2 separate regions of the Homo sapiens genome follow, and region 1 is linked to region 2. The links are contacts of gene promoters, found by promoter capture Hi-C in blood cells and fetal thymus (Javierre and others, 2016). All regions are on one chromosome and are shown on one strand. Each heading gives the region's core, a stretch centred on a gene start or on the middle of the fragment in contact. The rest is flanking DNA. Distances are from core to core; before and after follow the strand shown. Region 1 holds the start of SDS (serine dehydratase). Region 2 overlaps SLC8B1 (solute carrier family 8 member B1).

Region 1 (5,102 bases), core at 2,096-4,595, 71 kb before region 2:
AGACCAGCTTGGGAGGCTGAGGTGGGAGGATTGTTTGAGCCTGGGAAGTCAAGGCTGCAGTGAGCCATGATCGCACCACTGTACTCCAGCCTGAGCAACAGAGTCTCAAAAAAAAAAAAAAAAGCAAATCAAATCAAACATTAAGTTATAGAAATCTATCAAATAAATATATTTTATTTAGATAGGTAGTTTTACATTTAGTTTCTATCTTTTAACTGGAACTCAGAGCTCTGGACAGAGCCCACACTGAATCCCGGGTCTCCAAAGAGAATGATATGGTGGACCTAGGCTGTGTGATGCTTTTACAGTGTACTTTGTTGCAAAGACATTTCTCTAAGGGTCTAAACCATACTCTCTCTTATCTTTAAAAAAAATTTTTTTATATATAACTAGGCCCACACATCCAGACCCTCTCCTGTTTTAAACATTCAAGAGTAGCCCCTGTTGTAATAAAGATTTTAGTCAAAAAAGAAGTCAGGTAACACACAACAAAAGCAAGCAGTTGAAGATCTGAGAGGAACTTATCTGTTTATATTCTTAGGGCTCCATAAGGTTATGGAAAAACAGAGGTTTCTCCCCAAAAAGGAGTCTGGCACTTTCTCTGTTTTCCTTAAGGGAGTCCCAAGCTGTTAGAAATTATTTTAGGTTCCTTGAGCTGTAGAGGGTGGCAAGAGAAAGGAGACAGGCAGAAGTAAATTGGAAAAAACAGAAATCAGTCAACTGAGAAGAAAAAAGAAAACTTTTTCTCAAAAAACAAGATCCTGGCCAAGTGGGGCGGCTCTCACCTGTAATCCCAGCACTGTGGGAGCCTAAGGCCGGTGAATAACTTGAGGCCAGGAGTTCAAGACCCGCCTGGCCAACATGGTGAAATCCTGTCTCTACTAAAAATACAAAAACAATAGCCCAGTGTGGTGGTGTGCGCCTGTAATCCCAGCCACTTGGGAGGCTGAGGCAGGAGAACCACTTGAACCCAGGGAGTGGAGGTTGCAGTGAGCTGAGATCATGCCACTGCACTCTAGCCTGGACGACAGAGTAAGACTCCATCTCAAAAAAAAAACAGATCCTAAGAGAGAAAAAAATGCATTAAGGCCCTATGAATAAATAAATAAATAAATACACACACACACACACACACACACACATCTTAGATATTCGCCTTTAATTAAGCTTTTAACCATTGAGCTCTTTAAAAAATCCTTTTAAATCTCATCACCATATTTTAGCTGGGACAAACTGCTAATATTTCAAAAGTAACACAAACATCAAACCAGAAAGGACTTGATTTAGGAACCAAGCCCAGGCCACGGTGGTGAAAAAGGAACAGAATCTTAGCTACTGAACTAGCGTGAGGTGACAGCCATGTAGCCTCTTTCAGTTTGGCTTGGCTAGCAAAAGATGGCCTTGTTATGTAAATAATGCCCCTCAGGTAATCAAAATCCTTGTCTCTCTCTCTCTTTTTTCTTTTGCTGGCTGTTTTTTCTTTTTCCTTTTTTTTTTTTTCCAGCTGTGGGTATTTAGCCAATTCATGAGACCTTGTTCGCCATAATATGAAACTTTCCTTCAGATTTGACCAAGTCAAATGGAGTTGGTCCAGTCCAATGGGGAAAAGACAGAAGCAACAAAACAACAACAGAAACAAAAACAGTTAAGCAAGGGAAACAAACAATCAAGCAATTTATACGATTACTGCACGCTCTAAAAGTAGGGAGAAATTAAGACCAGCTGGTTGTTAACCCTAACTTCTAGTCATGGGGCCCAGGCTGAAGACCGCTCTCTACCATCCTAGAAGCGGGGAAATCTCAAACTTGCCTTCCCTGCCGGACACAAGCGAAACTCCAGAAAGGAGCTGCCTGCTTGCCATCATCATGGAAGCCAGAAAACTCACCTTCCTTGTTGGAAGTGAGTAAAACGCAGAAAAGGAGCTGTTCAGGGAAATCAAGCTTAGATATCAACCAATTGTGGGAGATCAGGAGTTCTCTGGAGGTGGGGAGCTCCCAGGCCTCAGCAAACTGTCCTATTTTGGAGGGCAATCAAGATCGCTCAAGGCCGGCATGGTGGCTCACGCCTGTAATCCCAGCACTCTAGGAGACTGAGGCGGGTGGATCACTTGAGGTCAGGACTTCAAGACCAGCCTGGCTAACATGGTGAAACCCCATCTCTACTAAAAATACAAAAAATTAGCTGAGTGTGGTGGCACATGCCTATACTCCCAGTTATTTGGGGGGTTGAAACAGGAGCATCGCTTGAACCCAGGAGATGGAGGTTGCAGTGAGCCAAGATCATGCCATTGCACTCCAGCCAGGGTGACAGAGCAAGACCCACCAAGCACCAGTAGGAGACTTGTCAAAGGTCAGGGCCACCTCCACCCAGGGTCCCTTTCATGAGTCTCCAATCTGTAAATCAAAAAGAATCAAAAAGATTGAGACAGGACTCAATCCATTTAGAAATTTATTTCGCCAGGGTTAAGAATGCACCTGGGAGACAGGTCTGTGCTTTTCTCCAGAGATGACTTTAGGTGTCAGTATTTAAAGGAGAAAAGCAAGCTGGAGGGGAAAGAAGGAGGCTATGGCCACATTACCAAATCCACAGTTTGTAAGAGAAGAGGGGCAGATAGGGAAGTAGCCAATTATGTATTTGTCTTGATCTCAATAAATCGGCACTTTACATAAGATAAGGTGAACATAGAGTAGCGACCTGTGGAGATATTTAACTTTTTTTTTTCTTTCTGTTGTGAAGGCTGGAGTGCAGTGGCGAGATCTAGTCTCACTGTAACCTCTGCCTCCCAGGTTCAAGCAATTCTTGTGCCTCAGCCTCCTGAGTAGCTAGGATTACAGGCACGTGCCACCACACCCGGCTGATTTTTGTATTTTTAGTAGAGACGGGATTTCACCATGTTGGCCAGGCTGGTTTCGAATTCCTGACCTCAGGTGATCCACCCGCCTCGGCCTCCCAAAATGCGGAGCCAATATTTAACCTTTCATCTGAAGCTATCTGCTTAGGAACTAAAGGAAAGGCAGTTTCTTACATGACTCAGCTTTTAGCTTAATTCTTTTTCTTTTGGCATAGTGAGTTGGGGGTCCCAATTTTTTATTTTCCTTTCACGAAACTGAGGACAGAAAGGGGAAGTGGAAAGAGGGAGGAGGAGTGGGTTGTGGGAAAGGCAGGAGGAAGCTGCCAAAGAAGAAAGCTTGGCCAGATTCCACCTCCCTTCTGACAGCCTCAGTGGCCTCAAGCCAGGGGGGTGGGTCCTGGCAGGAGGGAGGGGGGGGTGTAGCCAGCCCCAGGGCCCCATTGGCTGCCCAGAGGTGCCAGAGGAATAAAGCCCAGGACCAAGTAGCCCCTGGGACCATTCAGAAGACTGTCCACCCGTCCTCAGCCCCCTCTCTTCGTGGGCTATCTACTCAGTTGATCCCTCCCTCGCTGGCTTGGCTCTGACTCCTGCTCAGACCCATCACCTTTGCCGGGTAAGTGGCCCCATCCTCAGTCCCACCTCAGGACTGGAGTGTCCCGGGCTAGCCTGTGGTTTCCCAGGGGAAGAGGGAGACATAGAAAGAGTCTGTCAAGGCTGGGCATGGTGGCTGATGCCTGTAATCCCAACACTTTGGAAGGCTGAGGTGGGAGGGTTGCTTGAGGCCACAAGTTCAAGACTGAGCTGGGCAACAGAGTGAGACCCCCCCCAATCTCTACAAAAAAAATTTTTTTTTTTTAAGACAGAGGTCTCACTCTGTCACCCAGGCTGAAGTGCAATGGCACAATCTGGGCTCACTGCAACCTCCACCTCCTGGGTTCAAGCGATTCTCCTGCCTCAGCCTCCCGAGTAGCTTGGACTACAGGCGTGTGCCACCACGCCCGGCTAATTTTTGTATTTTTAGTAGAGATGGGGTTTCACCATGTTGGCCAGGCTGGTCTCGAACTCCTGACCTAAAAAAAGAATTTAATTAGTATAGTGTGGTGGTGCACACCTGTAGTCCCAGCTACTGGGAAGGCTGAGTTGGGAGGATCGCTGGAGCCCAAGAGGTCGAGTCTGCAGTGAGCAATTATTGCGCCCCTGCACTCCAGCCTGGGTGACACAGCAAGACCTTGTCTCAAATTTTTAAAAAACAGCCATTTGGGCCTAAACACTGAGTTTGTGTCCAGTTCTGTGCCTCAGCTTCCACATCTGTAGAATGGGGATGAGCATAGCGCCTTCCTCCTCAGGTGGTTGTGACGGTGAAAGGATGACCTGCACTTAAGGTGTCCAGCCCAGATTTCATAATAGTTCATATCGACTGAGCACTTACTGTGAACCAAGTGAAAGGGAAGGTGGCTTCCGACTGCCGGAGTGGGCAGACAGCGGCTTCAGGGCTCCCTCCCTCCTCCTCCCCGGGCACAACCTCTTCTGAAGTCTTGCGATCCTTGGGGCAGGGATCCTTGGGGCAGGCTGGATGCAGTTAATGGATGCTCACTTCACGGAAAGCCGCGGCAGAGGGAGCCCTGTCCTTTTACCTGAAGGCATCCCATGGCACCGCCTGGGACAAACGGCGAGAGAGGCGCCCCAAACCCACCTGAAAAGGGTCTTCGTGGCCGGCTCCTCTGACTCCCACCCCGATTGTCCCTGAGGCCAGGCCTTGGTGACCTACACCGGCCTTTAATGTCAAGTCAGTCGGTGTGGTGGCTCACGCCTGTAATCCCAGCACTTTGGGAGGCCAAGGCAGGCAGATGACTTGAGGTCAGGAGTTCGAGACCAGCCTGCCCAATATGGTGAAACCTTGTCTCCACTAAAAATGCAAAAATTATTCGGGCGTGGTGGTGCACGTCTGTGATCCCAGCTACTTGGGAGGCTGAGGCAGGAAAATCGCTTGAACCCAGAAGGCGGAGGTTGCAGTGAGCCGAGATCATGCCGCTGCACTCCAGCCTGGGTGACAGAGGGAGGTTCTCTAAAAATAACTAAATAAAAACCGGGATCCCATTGTTTGGGGATTAACCTCCAGGAGCTGAAAGTTCATGCCGATTTGGGGATGTCCTGTTTTGAAGTTTGCCCCAGTCTCTGATTTTTATTCGAGAGATCCAGCGGAGAGAGGGTGTCTGTTCAAGTTCCCCTCCCAGGCCCCGAATGTCAGTTA
Region 2 (5,132 bases), core at 1-2,500:
TGGTGGCTCACGCCTGTAGTCCCAGCACTTTGAGAGGTCAAGGCCGGCAGATCACTTGAGGCTAGGAGTTCCAGACCAGCCTGGCCAACATGGCGAAACCCCGTCTCCGTTAAAAATACAAAAATTAGCTGGGCATGGTGGTGTGTGCCTGTAATCCCAGCTACTCGGGAGGCTGAGGCAGGAGAATCACTTGAACCCGGGAGGCAGAGGTTGCAGTGAGCTGAGATCGCGCCACTGCACTCCAGCTTGGGTAACAGAGTGAGACTCCATCTGAAGAAACAAACAAAAAACAAAAAACACTCCTCTGAGCCCCTCTCCCTGCTGTGCAGGGTGGGGTGGGGGGCGGGGGGGTGACATTTCCAGAATTGTTCTGAGGACTGCATGAGGGAGGCGTGATGCAGGGGGGAAACAAGCCTGGCTTCACCTGTCTGTGCCTCAGTTAGTTCATCTGTAAAATGGAATGCTAGTGCTACCCCCGCTCGGCATGTCGTGAGGATAGAATGAGGTCATCCATGTAAAGCTTGGCTCCTTGTAAGACACAGAACAACAGCATTGCTTAGTGGGCTCTGTAAAATGTGGTGGGCAAGCCTCTCTACGTCTCAAACTGGTGGCCCAGAGGCCAAGTCCACCCCTAGAAGTAGAGTTTGTTTTGTTTTGTTTTGAGGGCTTCTGCAATCCCGCCCACTGCCCACTTCCCACATGTATCTCACCCACCTGCCCCAGAAGCCTGAGACTCTGAATCTTGGCTCAAGTCCCAAGTCCCTTGCAGCCCTGGCATTCTGGCCTCAGGCTGGGGGCCAGGTGGGACTGGGTAGGTTTTCATGGGTTCTCAGGAAGAAGGGCGTATCTGATCTGCACGCTGAATGGGCAGGGCCTTGGGCCCCTCCAGCGAGACTGTGCAGAACATGGTTTCTCCGTCAGCTTAACTTTGCTGCCGGGAGGCAGGAAGGCAGTTCCTTAACTAGAGTCTTCCAGCCCCTTTTGCTGTGTCCATGGGTTTTCAGTAATGTTGTCCCCCTTTCTCACTCCCACCTTGCAGGCCACCGGAGCCGCCAGCTGTTTGGAACTGAGCTACTGCAGAAAGGGAAGTGGAGAGTAAGGGCCAGGCCCCGTGGGGGCAGATGGCCGGCAGAAGGCTGAATCTGCGCTGGGCACTGAGTGTGCTTTGTGTGCTGCTAATGGCGGAGACAGTGTCTGGGACTAGGGGCTCGTCTACAGGAGCTCACATTAGCCCCCAGTTTCCAGCTTCAGGTGTGAACCAGACCCCCGTGGTAGACGTGAGTATCCCGGTAGGAACCTGGGGTTGAGTGGGGCTGTGTTCCTCCAATCGATAAATATCTATTGAGCATCTACTATGTGCCAGGCACTGACCGCAGCCTGGGATATACCGGGGAACAATAGAGACAAAATTCACTACTCTCAAGAAGCTGACAGTCTCCTGAACAGACAGATCAAGAAGTAAACTTATACACTTTGGGAGGCCAAGGCAGGAGGATCACTTGAGGCCAGGAGCTGGAGACCAGCCTGGCCATCGTGTCAAAACCCCGTATCTACTAAAAATACAAAAATTAGCTGGGCATGGTGGCAGGTGCCTGTAATCATCAGAACCCTGAGGCAGGAGAATTGCTTGAAACCGTGAGGTGGATGTTGCAGTGAGCCAGGATTGTACCACTGCACTCCAGCCTGGGCGGCGAAGCAAGACTCTGTCTCAACAACAAAAAAAAGAGAAGTAAGCATATACATTTCAGGTGGCGATGTGCTAAGTGCCCCGCACACAATAGCTAAAGTGGTATGGGGGAGGGCGTGAGCTTTTCCAACTATTTCAGATTGGGTGGTCACAGATGGCTTCTGTGAGGGGGTGATATTTGAGGCAAGCCAGCGAATGGAGAGAGGAAACCACCTACATTGACACCCCGGGGAAGAGCATTCTGGGCAAAGGGAACAGCAAGTACAAAGATTCTGGAGCAGGAACAAGCTTAGTGTGTTCCCGTAACAGCAGGGAGGCTAGAATGGATGGAACAGAGCAAGTGAGGGGAAGAATGCTAAGAGAGGAGGATGGAGAGGTAATGGCGGGCAGATTACAAAAGGCCTTACAGGCTGCGGCTAGGAGGTGAGAATTGTTTTGCGATAGTGGGGAGCCAATGGAAGGTTTTAAGCAGAGGGTCCCAAAATCTGTGTTAGTCGGAGTTCTCTAGTGGGACAGAACTAATAGGATAGATGTATATGTAAAGGGGAGTTTTTAAAGGAATATTGACTCACATGATCACAGGTGAGGTCCCGCAATAGGTCATCTGCAAGCTGAAGAGCGAGGAGGTCAGTCTGAGTCCCAAAACCTCAAAAGCAGGGAAGCTGACAGTGCAGCCTTTAGTCTGTGGCTGAAGGTCCAAGAGTCCCAAAGCTGAAGAACTTGGAGTCTGATGTTTGAGGGCAGGAAGCATCCAGCATGGGAGAAAGATGCAGGCCAGAAGACCAAGCCAGTCTAGTCTTTCCACATTCTTCTGCCTGCTTTTATTCTGGCTGTGCTGGTAGCTGATTAGATTGCACCCACCCAGATTGAGGGTGGGTCTGCTTTTCCCAGTCCACTGACTCAATTTTTTTTTTTTTTTTTTTTTTCGAGAACAGTCTCACTCTATACCCAGGCTGGAGTGCAATGGCACGATCTCAGCTCACTGCAACCTCCACCTCCCGGGTTCAAGCGATTCTTATGCACAGCCTCCCGAGTAGTTGGGATTACAGGTGCACACCACCACACCTGGCTAATTTTTTTGTATTTTTAGTAGAAACAGGGTTTCACCATGTTGGCCAGGCTGGTATTGAACTCCCACCCTCTCTCTTTCTCCCAGTGGTGGGAGAAAGAGAGGAGTTGTGGATGGCTCCAGGTTCCTGGCCTGATCAGCTGAGGGTGTGCTGGTGCTGTGATTTGAATGGGGAGCACTGAGGGAGGACCAATGACGACGCTGGAGTTAGAGGCAAGAGGCCTTCCTCCCAGGGCAGGGAGGGCACAGCCTGTTGAGACAGGCTACAGAGAACTTGCATCTTTCCGCTCTGATGTCTGTAAGGGGAGAAGAGGAGGTCACAGCAGATCTGGAGTGAAGGAACAAAAGCAGAGGACTGCTCAAGATGACCCCCTGGAGTGCCCTGTAGCTGCCAGGGACTGGAGTTCTCACCATTTCTTCAGCAGGAATCCCAAACTCAAACTGATGGGCTGAGAGCATTCAATGCCCACAGCAACTTTATGAGGCTGCAAAGTGCCTTCAAGTCCACCCTGTGAAACAGGCAACAGGCAATTAAGCCCATTTTACAGATGGGAAAGTGGTTTGTGGTTACTGTGGTTATAAAATTGAGTACCCCCTCTTGGAGCGTGCTCCTTGGGGGCAGGAAAACTGGGAGATCATACCAGATAATTGTGCCAGATAATCTCTCCAAGTTATTGAGCACTTAGATCAGCCTTGTGCCCACAAGTCCTCCCCCAAACCCCGTGAGGTGGGAGTGATTATCTCTGTGCTATAGATGAAGACTCCAAGGTTCAGGGAGGTGAAGGTGGCCAGGAGGAAAGTGGCAGAGCCAGGATGAGAACCCTTGGCTGCTTCATGCTAAATCCATCCCCTTCCCCTCTAGTCCACCGCCTCACAGGACAGATGGGGCAGCTGCCTTTCTGGAAGTCCCCACCATCCAGGGAGCCTGCAGGCTGGGAAAGGCCCCCCCAGCCCCTTACCTTAGGTCCTTTTCAAGTAGTCATTAATGCAACAAATAGTTATTGAGCACCTACTATGTGCCAGGGCCTGTGCCATGTGCTGAGGGGATAGCAGGAAGCAGAGAGCCTGGTCCCTGCCCCCCTGGAGCTTATACTCTAGTGGGGTCATGGATGAGAAGCAAGTTGACAAATCATTCCACAGGGTGAGGGGGAGGGGGGTGCTGCTTTGCTTAGGCTATCATGGAAGGCCTCTCTGAGGACATGACATTTAGACTGAGACCTGAATGGCTTATGAAGATCCAGGGGAAGTGAGGGAACAGTAGATGCAAAGGCCCTGGGGCAGGAGCAGAATGACAGATTTTGCAAAGTGGCTGGAACAGTGAGCAAGGGAGAAGGAAGGGAGACCAGGCAGGAGAGAACAGGGGCCCTGGGGACCACTGTAGACTTGGCTGTCAGTGGGAGGAAGGTGGGAGCCATGGGAGGCTTTAGAGCACAAGAGGATGTGATCTGATGTAAGTTTTTATAAGAATTCCAAGGTATTGAGTTGGTTACCCTTTCCTGTCCAGCCTGACCTCTGTGTGCACCTCTTTGGGTTTCCTGGGACTGAGTTAGTGACATAGGAAAGAGGGTGGGAAGGACTGGAAGGAAGTGAAGTCACTCCTTCCCTCCCCCAGACGCAGAGCAATCCCACCTTACTCTGTCTCTCTTGAGCAGAGAGCTGGGGAGGGGTCCTGAGGGACCTGGGGGAGGGCTGTGCAGCTCGGGGAGGGCAGAGCGAGACAGACTGCACAGTAATGTGATTTTGGAGGCCAGATTTGGGGGACCCACCTTGCTGACTCACTCTGCCATCAGGGAGATGGGGTGACTCCCTGCATCCTCCCTAGCTGACCCCGAGGACAGGGAGGAGGGAGGGCAGGAAGATAGTGAGAGGACAGGAAATGGAGGCTGCCCCTGCCCAGTTGGGCAGTTTCCTCAGGAGCTTCAGCGAGTAACTTTCAGGCGGAGCTGAGTTTGGAGCCACTTCTCAGTGGTGGGCTGTGTGCTCCTGGGCAAGCCACTTTGCCTCTCTGTGCCTCAGTTTTCTCATCTGTGAAGTGGAAACAATTGTGCCAACCTCCTGGGTCTCTGATGAAGACTGAATGGGTGAGATGATGCCCAGCACGGTGTGCAGCACAACTGTTAGGAGGGCCTACTCTGCCAGGCACTGTGCGAGACTTTAGTGGGAGGGGCAGATATTAAGCAAGTCTATGATCCTGCCTGGGTGCGGTGGCTCACACCTGTAATCCCAGCACTTTGGGAGGCCGAGGCAGGTGGATCACTTCAGGCCAGGATTTCGAGACCAGCCTGGCCAACATAGCAAAACCCCATCTCTACTAAAATACAAAAATTACCTGGGCATGGTGGTGGACGTCTGCAATCCCAGCTACTCGGGAGGCTG

The links. Contacts are between HindIII fragments. The CHiCAGO score rates a contact against its expected background, and 5 or more counts as called.
Region 1: a contact is called between the fragment with the promoter of SDS here and a fragment that was not itself captured in region 2, in 1 of 17 cell types (M0 macrophages). The highest score is 5.4, in M0 macrophages.

Annotation. Positions count from the first base shown.
Region 1 is chr12:113,402,130-113,407,231 of GRCh38, reverse strand. It overlaps SDS (serine dehydratase), which reads left to right and starts at 3,345. Exons shown (of 8, transcript NM_006843.3): 1 at 3,345-3,464. RefSeq lists an enhancer at 4,907-5,102. The HindIII fragment of the contact is 9,232 bases long and covers 3,190-5,102 here.
Region 2 is chr12:113,328,868-113,333,999 of GRCh38, reverse strand. SLC8B1 (solute carrier family 8 member B1) reads left to right here. Exons shown (of 16, transcript NM_001358345.2): 2 at 1,040-1,277. The coding sequence starts at 1,122. Among named protein-coding and RNA genes, the nearest start is that of SLC8B1, 3.7 kb to the left of the region's middle. The HindIII fragment of the contact is 1,455 bases long and covers 523-1,977 here.